2 separate regions of the Homo sapiens genome follow, and region 1 is linked to region 2. The links are contacts of gene promoters, found by promoter capture Hi-C in blood cells and fetal thymus (Javierre and others, 2016). All regions are on one chromosome and are shown on one strand. Each heading gives the region's core, a stretch centred on a gene start or on the middle of the fragment in contact. The rest is flanking DNA. Distances are from core to core; before and after follow the strand shown.

What was found. Contacts are between HindIII fragments. The CHiCAGO score rates a contact against its expected background, and 5 or more counts as called.
Region 1: a fragment that was not itself captured here is called in contact with the fragment with the promoter of DPP4 in region 2 in 2 of 17 cell types (non-activated CD4 T cells and M2 macrophages); the score reaches 6.2 in non-activated CD4 T cells.

The regions. Positions count from the first base shown.
Region 1 is chr2:161,574,871-161,579,691 of GRCh38, reverse strand. No RefSeq gene overlaps it. Among named protein-coding and RNA genes, the nearest start is that of SLC4A10, 47 kb to the left of the region's middle. The HindIII fragment of the contact is 760 bases long and covers 1,760-2,519 here.
Region 2 is chr2:162,071,483-162,076,001 of GRCh38, reverse strand. DPP4 (dipeptidyl peptidase 4) reads left to right here and starts at 1,787. Exons shown (of 26, transcript NM_001935.4): 1 at 1,787-2,026; 2 at 2,516-2,603. The coding sequence starts at 2,021. It overlaps DPP4-DT (DPP4 divergent transcript), which reads right to left and starts at 1,145. Exons shown (of 3, transcript NR_147697.1): 1 at 1,067-1,145; 2 at 391-524. RefSeq lists a promoter at 1-1,382, enhancers at 937-1,634, 2,069-2,268 and a silencer at 1,659-1,918. The HindIII fragment of the contact is 4,875 bases long and covers 1-3,686 here.

The DNA of each region.
Region 1 (4,821 bases), core at 890-3,389, 500 kb after region 2:
GGCAACAGAGTGAGACCCTGTCAAAAAAAAAAAAGAAGTGTAAAACATCCTTAGCATGACAATATATTAAAGACTTCAACAATCTGGTCCTAACCAATATTTTCAGTCTAATCTCCCACCATTCATTCATAAGAACCCCTTACTCTTTTCACACCAATGCATGCCATTCTTTAAATCCAAAAAAATGTTATGCTTCCGTGCCTTCAAACAAGCCATTTCTTTTGTCTAAATCATCTTTTTTTTAGCTAACCTAGAGAACTTCTACTCATACTTCAGGACACAGTTCACTTATTACAACATGTAATAATTTGCTTATTTGGGTGTTAGCCTCTACAAGACTAGATTTCAAACTCCTAATAAGCAAAAATTAATCTTACTTATCCTTGTGTTCCTAGCACCAATTACACTCGTAGGCATGCAGTGTTGAATTATAAATGTTTGCTGAATGATGAATGAATGAACAAATATTCAATCAGGACTCATAGAGATTTTTAGGAGTGGTAGAACCTGTTTTTCTTTCCTCTCCTTTCTCTTCCTCCTCCCCTCAACTACCCCATTCTCATCCACTAAAACTCCTAACCTCAGCAGCAAATAAAAGATCTTTTCTATAAGACACATTATTCCAGGAAGATGAAATAAATGTACTTTTCTTTATTCCACCTATTAGGTAAAACTAAAAACCCTGGACATAATATGTAAGGCAAACACAGGAAGACTCTGAAAGGTGGAGAGAAGATTGCTTGCTAGGAACATCAAAACCCAAAGAACAACATGGTCATGTGTTGCTTGGAATTCATTTTTGCCTAATATATCTGAGACCTGCAGCTGAAGAAGCCAGAAACATGAAAACACCAACATGCATGGGCAAAATAGCCTGAACGAAAGCTTGTTCTCTCTAGCTGAAGGCCAGGAAAACGGTGGCCTAGTCAGACAGAAAATTTTTAGACAAGAAGTGCTCTATTCCAGCCTAACCCCAAGGAAAAAGCTGTTGCTCCACTCCCATCCATGCCAATGAAGGCCACGTGGGGAGCCTACACTTCCACCCTCATGAGACAGTAATGAGATGCTCCAACCCCCTCACCAGAGTGGTATCAAAGAAAGCCAAGTAGGGAGTGAGGACATTCATCCAACTGGCCAATAACATGATCTCCTCCTCCCTGCAGTGTGAGTAAAAACCACACAAGGAGCCAGAACTTCTACCCCCATCAAGCAGTAATGAGGCACCCTCCTCACCCCACTGAGGTAGTGTTAGAGGAGGCCTACTAAAGAATCAAGACTTTCACCATCACCCAGCAATAATGAGGCCACCCCCACCACCGTGTCAATGGAGACCATGTGGGGAGCCAGAATTCCCACCCTCACCCAGCAGTAATAAGGAGTCCCTCCCATTCAAGTGTCAGCAAGGCCAATTGGAGAACCTAGACTTCCATTCCACCTGATATTAACAAGGTGGCACCTCCCTCCTTCCACTACTAGAGTGGTGTCAGAGAAGTGCAATCAAAAGGGAAGGTTTAAATAAGATTTAGAGTCTCATAACATAATATGAAAATGTCCAGATTTCAATGTCCAGAGAACAAACATAAAAATCACACGTCACACTAACAACCAGAAGGTCTCTACTGAGTGAAAAAAAGTAATAGATGCCAACAACAGATGATAGAGGTGCTAGAATTACCTAACAAAGATTTTAAAGCAGCCATTATAAACATATTTCAATGAGTAATTACAAACAGGCTTGAAAAAATGAAAAAAAAAAGCTTTAGCAAAGAAAAAGAATGTCTCAACAAATAAATGAAAGATATAAAGAACCAAACTGAAATTTAGAACTGAGAGATAATAGTAACTGAAATTTTAAAAGGCTCAGTGAATAAGTTCAACAGCAGAATGGAGGAAATAGAGGAAAGAAATGATGAACAGAAAGAGCAAACAATGCAAATTACTCAATCTGAACAACACAGAGGAAAAAAGACTTGAAAAAAGTGAACATGCTTCAGGAACCTTTGGAAGTATTTTTTAAATGTAATATTTGTGCCATTGAAGCCCTGGAAGGAGAGAAAAATGAGGGCAGGGATGAAAAAGTACTTAAAGAACTAATGGCTGAAAACTTCCCACATTTAGCAAGAAACACAAAACTACAAATTCGTGAAGCTGACTGAACCCCAAACAAGATAATAAAATAATACACAGGAAGACATACCATAATTAAAATTATGAAAACTAAAGACAAAGTGTTGAAAGCAGCCATGACACCTTATATGTAGGGGAAAGCAATTTGAATAACAGTGAGTTTCTCCCTGGAAAAACCATGGAGGCCAGAAAGAAGTAGCACAGTATCTTTCAAGTGAAAAGAATTGTCAACCCAGAACTTTACACCCAATGAAATTATCCTTCAGGAATTAAGGAGAAAGCAGTACATTCTCAGATAAAGGAAAATTATGATAGTTTTTCAAAAGTAGACCTACCCTAAAATAATAGCTTTAAAAAAGCTCTCTAAACACAAATGTTAAAAGAAGGAAGCTTGGAACATCAGAAACGAAAAAAGGATGTAGCAACAGAAATATGGGCGAATAAAATGGGCTTTCCTTTGCCTCTTGAGTTTTCTAAATTATGATAGAACATTGAAACAAAAATTATAAGACTCTATTATGTGGTTCTAAATGTATATGTAGAGTAAATATGACAATTATAAACAAAGGAGAGGAAAGGGATGGAGGTAGCATTTATATACTTTATGCAAACTGGTAAAATAATGATGCCAGTAGATTGTGATAAACTATATATGATGCAACACCTAAAGCAAACTTTTTTAAAAAAACTATGCAAAGAGATACACTCAAAAACACTATAAATAAAACAAAATGGAATACTAAAAATTGTTCAAGCAACCCACTAGAAGACAAGAAGAAGAAAACAGCTAAGAGAACAAACATAAAACAAAAAATATAGGGTAAATTTAAGTCCTGTTGAAATAGGAAAAGTTCCCTTGTTCCCCACACAGGGCGTGTGATGGGGGTGTGGCTCGCTTCTTCATGACTTGCTGCTCAAAACCCCTAGGGGGAGCAGGAAGATGGGCAGGTCATGGGGAATGTGGGCTCTGACCTATGGCAGCGTCTAGGGGTGAATGTTTACAGCTCCTGAGGCCCCAGTGGGCATGTGTTACAGTGTGCTCTTTCAGTGTAGCCTTTCAAAGGCGGCTTGTGTTAATCAGCGCAAATTGCCTCATCGCAAGGACAGAGGGCTTTCTGTATCCCGGGTTCTTGCCTTAGTGTACCTGAAAAATCGGATCACACATGGGCTTGGAGAATGACTGCAAGGTTTTTTATTGAGTGGTGGTAGCTCTCAGCGAGGTGGATGGGGAGGCCAGAAGGGGAATGGAGTGGGAAGGTGGTTTTCCCCTGGAGTCGGTGTGCCCAGCGGCCAGACTCTCCAACCGCTCCAGCCAAATTCCCCTCAGGTCCGCATTGTTGCGCCGGTTGATGGCCTGCCAGCATCTGTTGGTGCCTGTCGGCGTGCTCTTCAGCCAATGTGATCTTCTCAACGTCCAACCATTTGTGTGTTCCACCAGTGTGATCCTCTCAATGTCCAGCCACTTGCATCTCTGCCCACTAGGGTCTCAGGGTTTTTACAGGAACAGGATGGAGGCATAGCAGACCAGGGTGGTCTTGGAAAATTCAACATTTGGGCACGAAAACAGAAATGCCTGTCCTTACCTAGGTCCGTGGGCACAGACCCGGGGCGGAGTGCTGGCCAGGGACCCCACCCTTCTCCTAGCATTTCCCTGCCCCCTATCCCATATCACTAATTAAAAAAACAGTGGATGAATGGATTTTAAAACAACAACAAAATACAGGTTGGGGTAGTGGTTCATTCTTGTAATCCTAGTGCTTTCAGGAGGTTGAGGCAGGAGGATTGCTTGAGGCAAGGAGTTTGAGACCAGCTTGAGCAACATAGCAAGACCCCCATCTTAGATTACCAAAAATAAAAAACAAACTTAGCCCAGCATGGTGGTATGTGCCTATAGTCCCAGCTACTCAGGAGGCTGAGGTGGGAGGATCACTTGAGCCCCTTGATTACTTGAGCAGTTTGAGGCTGCAGTGATCTATAATCACAACACCTCACTCCAGCCTGGGTAACAGAGTGAGACTCTGTCTCTAAAGAAAGAGAGAGAGAGAAGACACAAATCACCAATATCAGGAATAAAACAGGAGGTTTTACTATAGACCCTACAGCCACGAAAAGGATAATAAAGAAATACTATGAACAACTCTACAAACATAAATTTGACAACTTAGATGTAATGAACCATTTCCCCAACAAACCCAAATCACCGTAACTCACCCAATATGAAATACATAATTTGAAAATCCATATCACTACTAAAATAATTGAATTTTTAACTAAAAAAAAAAAAGAAATCTGCAGGCCTAGGTGGTTTCACTGGAAAATTTCACTAAATATTTGAAGAATAATAACACAAATTCTACACAATCTTTTGTAGAAAATAGAAAGGGAAGAAACATTTTCCAATACGTTTTATGAAGATAATATTACGCTTAGGCCAAAACCAAAGATAGGACCAAAAATAAAAAAATAAAAACTATCATGTTCATGAATTGAAATACTCAATATATTAAAGATGTTAATTCTCCCCAAATTGATGCATAGGTTTAATGCAATTCTTATCAGAATCTCAGTAGGTTTGCTTTTATATTTATACAAGATTATTTTACTATGTATATGAATAATCAAAGAACTAGAATAGCTAAAACAATTTTTTAAAAGAAGAATGAAGAATAATCAATATACCTAATTTCAGGACTA
Region 2 (4,519 bases), core at 538-3,037:
TTTGAGCAGAACATCTGCTTTTCTATTTTGCAAGAAAAAAGAGATGGCCCAATGTAAGATCTACACTGACTCATCAGTGGTGGCTAATGTGTTGGCCAGCTGCTACCTTAAGGATTTGGAAAAAACAAGATTGAAAGACTGGTGACACAGAGGTCAAGGTGGGGGAGGCATGTGAGAGAGTCTCTTGAAATGGGCACAGGGTGTGAAGATATTTGCGTCTCATGGAGTGCCCTCCAGAGAACAAATTGACCTGTCCCGTAGATGTCAGCCAGCCTCCTGCCAGCTTCCTTGGGGCTTGCTGAATGTACAATGAGTGCCATGGTGCTGGCATGGAGATGAAGCACAGGCTTAACTCTCCAGACTTCCTTCACCGAGGCTGATGTGGCTTACCAATGCTGAGTGAGCAAAATGCTGAGAGTGAAGGGCAGCACTGAGCCCCCTGTGGCACCATTCCCCGTAGTCCGTGTTAAATGGCCTCTCTTCACAGCATCAGTTCACAGGGTCCAGTAACACCATTGACTCATCTTCCTCAGCAGTTGGAAGAGGGAGGAGGAGAGTTAGTTTCAGCCTCTGGAGTTGGGGGTGAGTGAGGATACTGATGTATCACAAGCAACTAGTGGGCAAGGGGGAAAAGATGACTGAGTTCAAAAGCAATGCCTGGATTGGAAATAAAAGATGGAAAATTGCATTAATTCATAATCATGTGGTAATGCCCCATCGGACTCTGCATTCTTAATCTTTTACCTCTACTGACAGAGAGGCTTTGCTTTTCAGCTGCTGTGAACAAGCTGAAGAGGCCTTATCCTCTTATCTGCAAGAGTGGAAGTAATCACAGGGGGCCCTAAAGGCAAATGTTTACCTGTGTATTTTATCGTGAAAGTGCCAAGGGTCCAGACCTCACCTCTCTTGTCCCACTTTATCTCCAGTACCTAGAAGGGAGGCTGGCACATTGTAACCACTCAAACATCTGTGGATGACTGGAATAAATGGGAGGATGTAGGAATGAATGAACGAATGAATAATCCTTTAGGGAACAATAGAGAGCTGGGGGAGGGAGAAGCCATACCTGATCTTTTATTCTTCTCCAAAACCCTTGAAAAGACTATGAGAGGCCGCATAGAGTAGCCATTAAGACCTTGAACTCTTAATTTAGGATCTACAACTTCCTAGCTGAATGGCTTGGCCAAGTTATTTATTCTCTGTGTACAGTCTTCCTTCCTGTAAAACAAACACAGTAAATGCTTAGAGCAGCACCTGGGAAAAAGTCAAGTTCCACATAAGTGTTACTGTCATTATTTTTGTCATCTTGATGAGTGTGTAAGCCTGCAAGACAATCGGGAAATTCCCTAGGGAGGGTGAATCCAGATACTCAGCTTCCAAGGGCCATTCAAGAGGGAACAATCACCTTTTCTCTTTGCCTTTCATACTGCTTTAGACCCCTCACTGCTTCCTAACATAACTTTCACTGGCAAGAGACGGAGTCCTGGGTTTCAGTTCCAGTTGCCTGCGGTGGGCTGTGTGAGTTTGCCAAAGTCCCCTGCCCTCTCTGGGTCTCGGTTCCCTCGCCTGTCCACGTGAGGTTGGAGGAGCTGAACGCCGACGTCATTTTTAGCTAAGAGGGAGCAGGGTCCCCGAGTCGCCGGCCCAGGGTCTGCGCATCCGAGGCCGCGCGCCCTTTCCCCTCCCCCACGGCTCCTCCGGGCCCCGCACTCTGCGCCCCGGCTGCCGCCCAGCGCCCTACACCGCCCTCAGGGGGCCCTCGCGGGCTCCCCCCGGCCGGGATGCCAGTGCCCCGCGCCACGCGCGCCTGCTCCCGCGCCGCCTGCCCTGCAGCCTGCCCGCGGCGCCTTTATACCCAGCGGGCTCGGCGCTCACTAATGTTTAACTCGGGGCCGAAACTTGCCAGCGGCGAGTGACTCCACCGCCCGGAGCAGCGGTGCAGGACGCGCGTCTCCGCCGCCCGCGGTGACTTCTGCCTGCGCTCCTTCTCTGAACGCTCACTTCCGAGGAGACGCCGACGATGAAGGTGAGTGCCGCGCCACGTACGTCCCCGGGGCGAGCTGTGGGGACCTCTTCGCCAAACTCCCCAAATGGCCCAAAAGCTGGCGAAACCGGACCAGGGACTCCCCTTAGGCGGAAGCCCCAAGGCCACCCTCTGACAGGTGAAGGGACGTCCCAGAGCTCTCGCTTAGCTTTCGGACCCTGGCTTCTGCTAGGACCCTGGCGTCGAGCTTTGAATGTCCCGGAGAGCCACTCACAGAACGCACGCCCGAACCCGGGCAGGGGTAGAGAAACCAACGCTAATGTGCTCTGAAGGCACAAGTTCAAGGGCACCCGCCTTAGAGAACTCCAACTGGCGCACTCCAGACGCCACCCCCACCCCCAGCCCGCGGTCTCCCTCTTCTAACGCACTCCCACCTGCAAATCCTGCTGCCTCTGGAGCAGCCCCGACCCTCCTACGGAAACTGGGGCCACACGCTTCCCTCTAATTGGACTTGATCTGCTCGGCTTGCAGACACCGTGGAAGGTTCTTCTGGGACTGCTGGGTGCTGCTGCGCTTGTCACCATCATCACCGTGCCCGTGGTTCTGCTGAACAAAGGCAGTAAGTTTGAAACATTTGAAAAAGATAGGACAGTTGGAGCTCAGGTCAGGCTCCGTCTTACCACGCTAAGGGAAACGAGGGATTTTGCGTGGGGTTGGACCAGTGCCCCGAAGTGTAGCTGAGAAGGCTTCCCAGTTGTTGTTGCTGCTTGTAGAGCAGCAGCTGGATTCACTTCGCGGGGTCTTCAGTGTTTAGGCTGAAACTCTTGCGGCTTTCACGTCTTGTTATGTATAATAAATGCATGCTTCCTGAAATTAGGGAGAGTCGGGATTTTTAAAATTTCAATTTTAAATTTAATTTGTAAATTTTTAAATTTACATGTAATTTTTGAGAAAAGTTTTTGGGTGTGATCGAAAAAGGAAAAAAGGCAGTGTTTAAAGAGCCCAAAGACAGCAGTAAGGATATCTGAAATGGAAAGGAAAAATGAGAAAGCAAGCCCCAAAATACAGTTTTGAGAAATGATGTTCCACAGGGAACCCAGACTGTTTTCCCTCAAGGGTGGTGAGAATTCAGTTGGAGGGTGGGGAGGCAGGGAAGTAATTGACCAATTTAGCAGTATTGCAGAGCTAAATAATAAAGCTGGTATACACGATAATATTTAAGAAGGGTCTGGAATCAGTGATGTTTTGGTGGATTCTTTTATTTAAGGACTTTCATGTCTTTTTAGCTTGCCTAAATGTATAAAACACTCACATAATGGAATACTCACTGTAGGATGCAAGCAAGTGAGAACTACTAGTTTCAGTCTCCCCTGGCCTTACTTTCCTTTTAAACACTTGCTTTCATTTCAGCATTACACACTATAAATTAGTCAGCCAGTTAAAGCATTCTCTCTGGAAGATTTAGTCAACTGAGGAATGTATAGTCAGTGCTTGCATACTCAAGGAGTCTTATCTAGATTTTAGGATGACAGTTCAGAATTAGATTGTAGAGCTATGAAAACCATGCTTGCTGTGCAATTCAAGGCCAGGGCAAATGTGCCAAAGGTTAAATAACTGAATGGGTTGACCTACTGCTAATGAAATTTGAAGAAACCAGTGGTTGCTACTATTTTATACCATTAAATGACAGTCCACTTAAGCTTGACTCTTGTGGACTGTTAAAATATAACTATTTTCATAAAGCAACTCTTTGTGTAAACCATACATGCAAAGCCTTGTGGGAGAAGAATGTGCTAGTCATACAATTGATAAATATAGGGCTTACAGGCTTACATTATGTTCCAGGCACCGCGTTAGTTGCTGCAAATACAAAGATTAAATTTTGTAAATATAAATATAAAGGCCCTGACCTCAAGGACTGTATAAGCTAGTGGGAACATGCAAACAAATATGACTTGTTTTACATATATATGTGTGTATGTGTGTGTGTGGATACACACATATATAAATAGAAATAATCTGTATGTTTCTCTCCAAAACATCACTGAGGCATCACAGCATCGCTGGAAGTTTGAGTAAAACTGTAATTATCAGAACTTCCGTTAAAGCAAGTTGGAAGGAATACTGTACTTTGATAAGCCACTTGAGATGGCCAGTGAAAAGGCCTAGGGATCTGAGGCTTGCTGCAGTTAACTCTGAGAATTTTGTTTTGCTGGGTAGGGTATACAGGCCAGGAAGAGCTGTTTTGCCATTTCTGCTAAATAGCACCTGGTATCTTCTCCAAATGAAATTTGAACACATTTCAAGAATGTTCTCTTGAGGAGGACTTCCTGAGAGACTCAACTTGTTTCCATATAACTACTCTTATGATTCAAAAAAATAACTTAGAGGTGCTTGAGCAGACTGCTCTGGAGGTTAGAAGGAACACTTCTGGGAAAGTCTCCCCCTCCCGGGTTCAAGTGATTCCCTTGCCTCAGCCTCCCGAGTAGCTGGGACTACAGGCACACACCACCACGCCCGGATAATTTTTTGTAT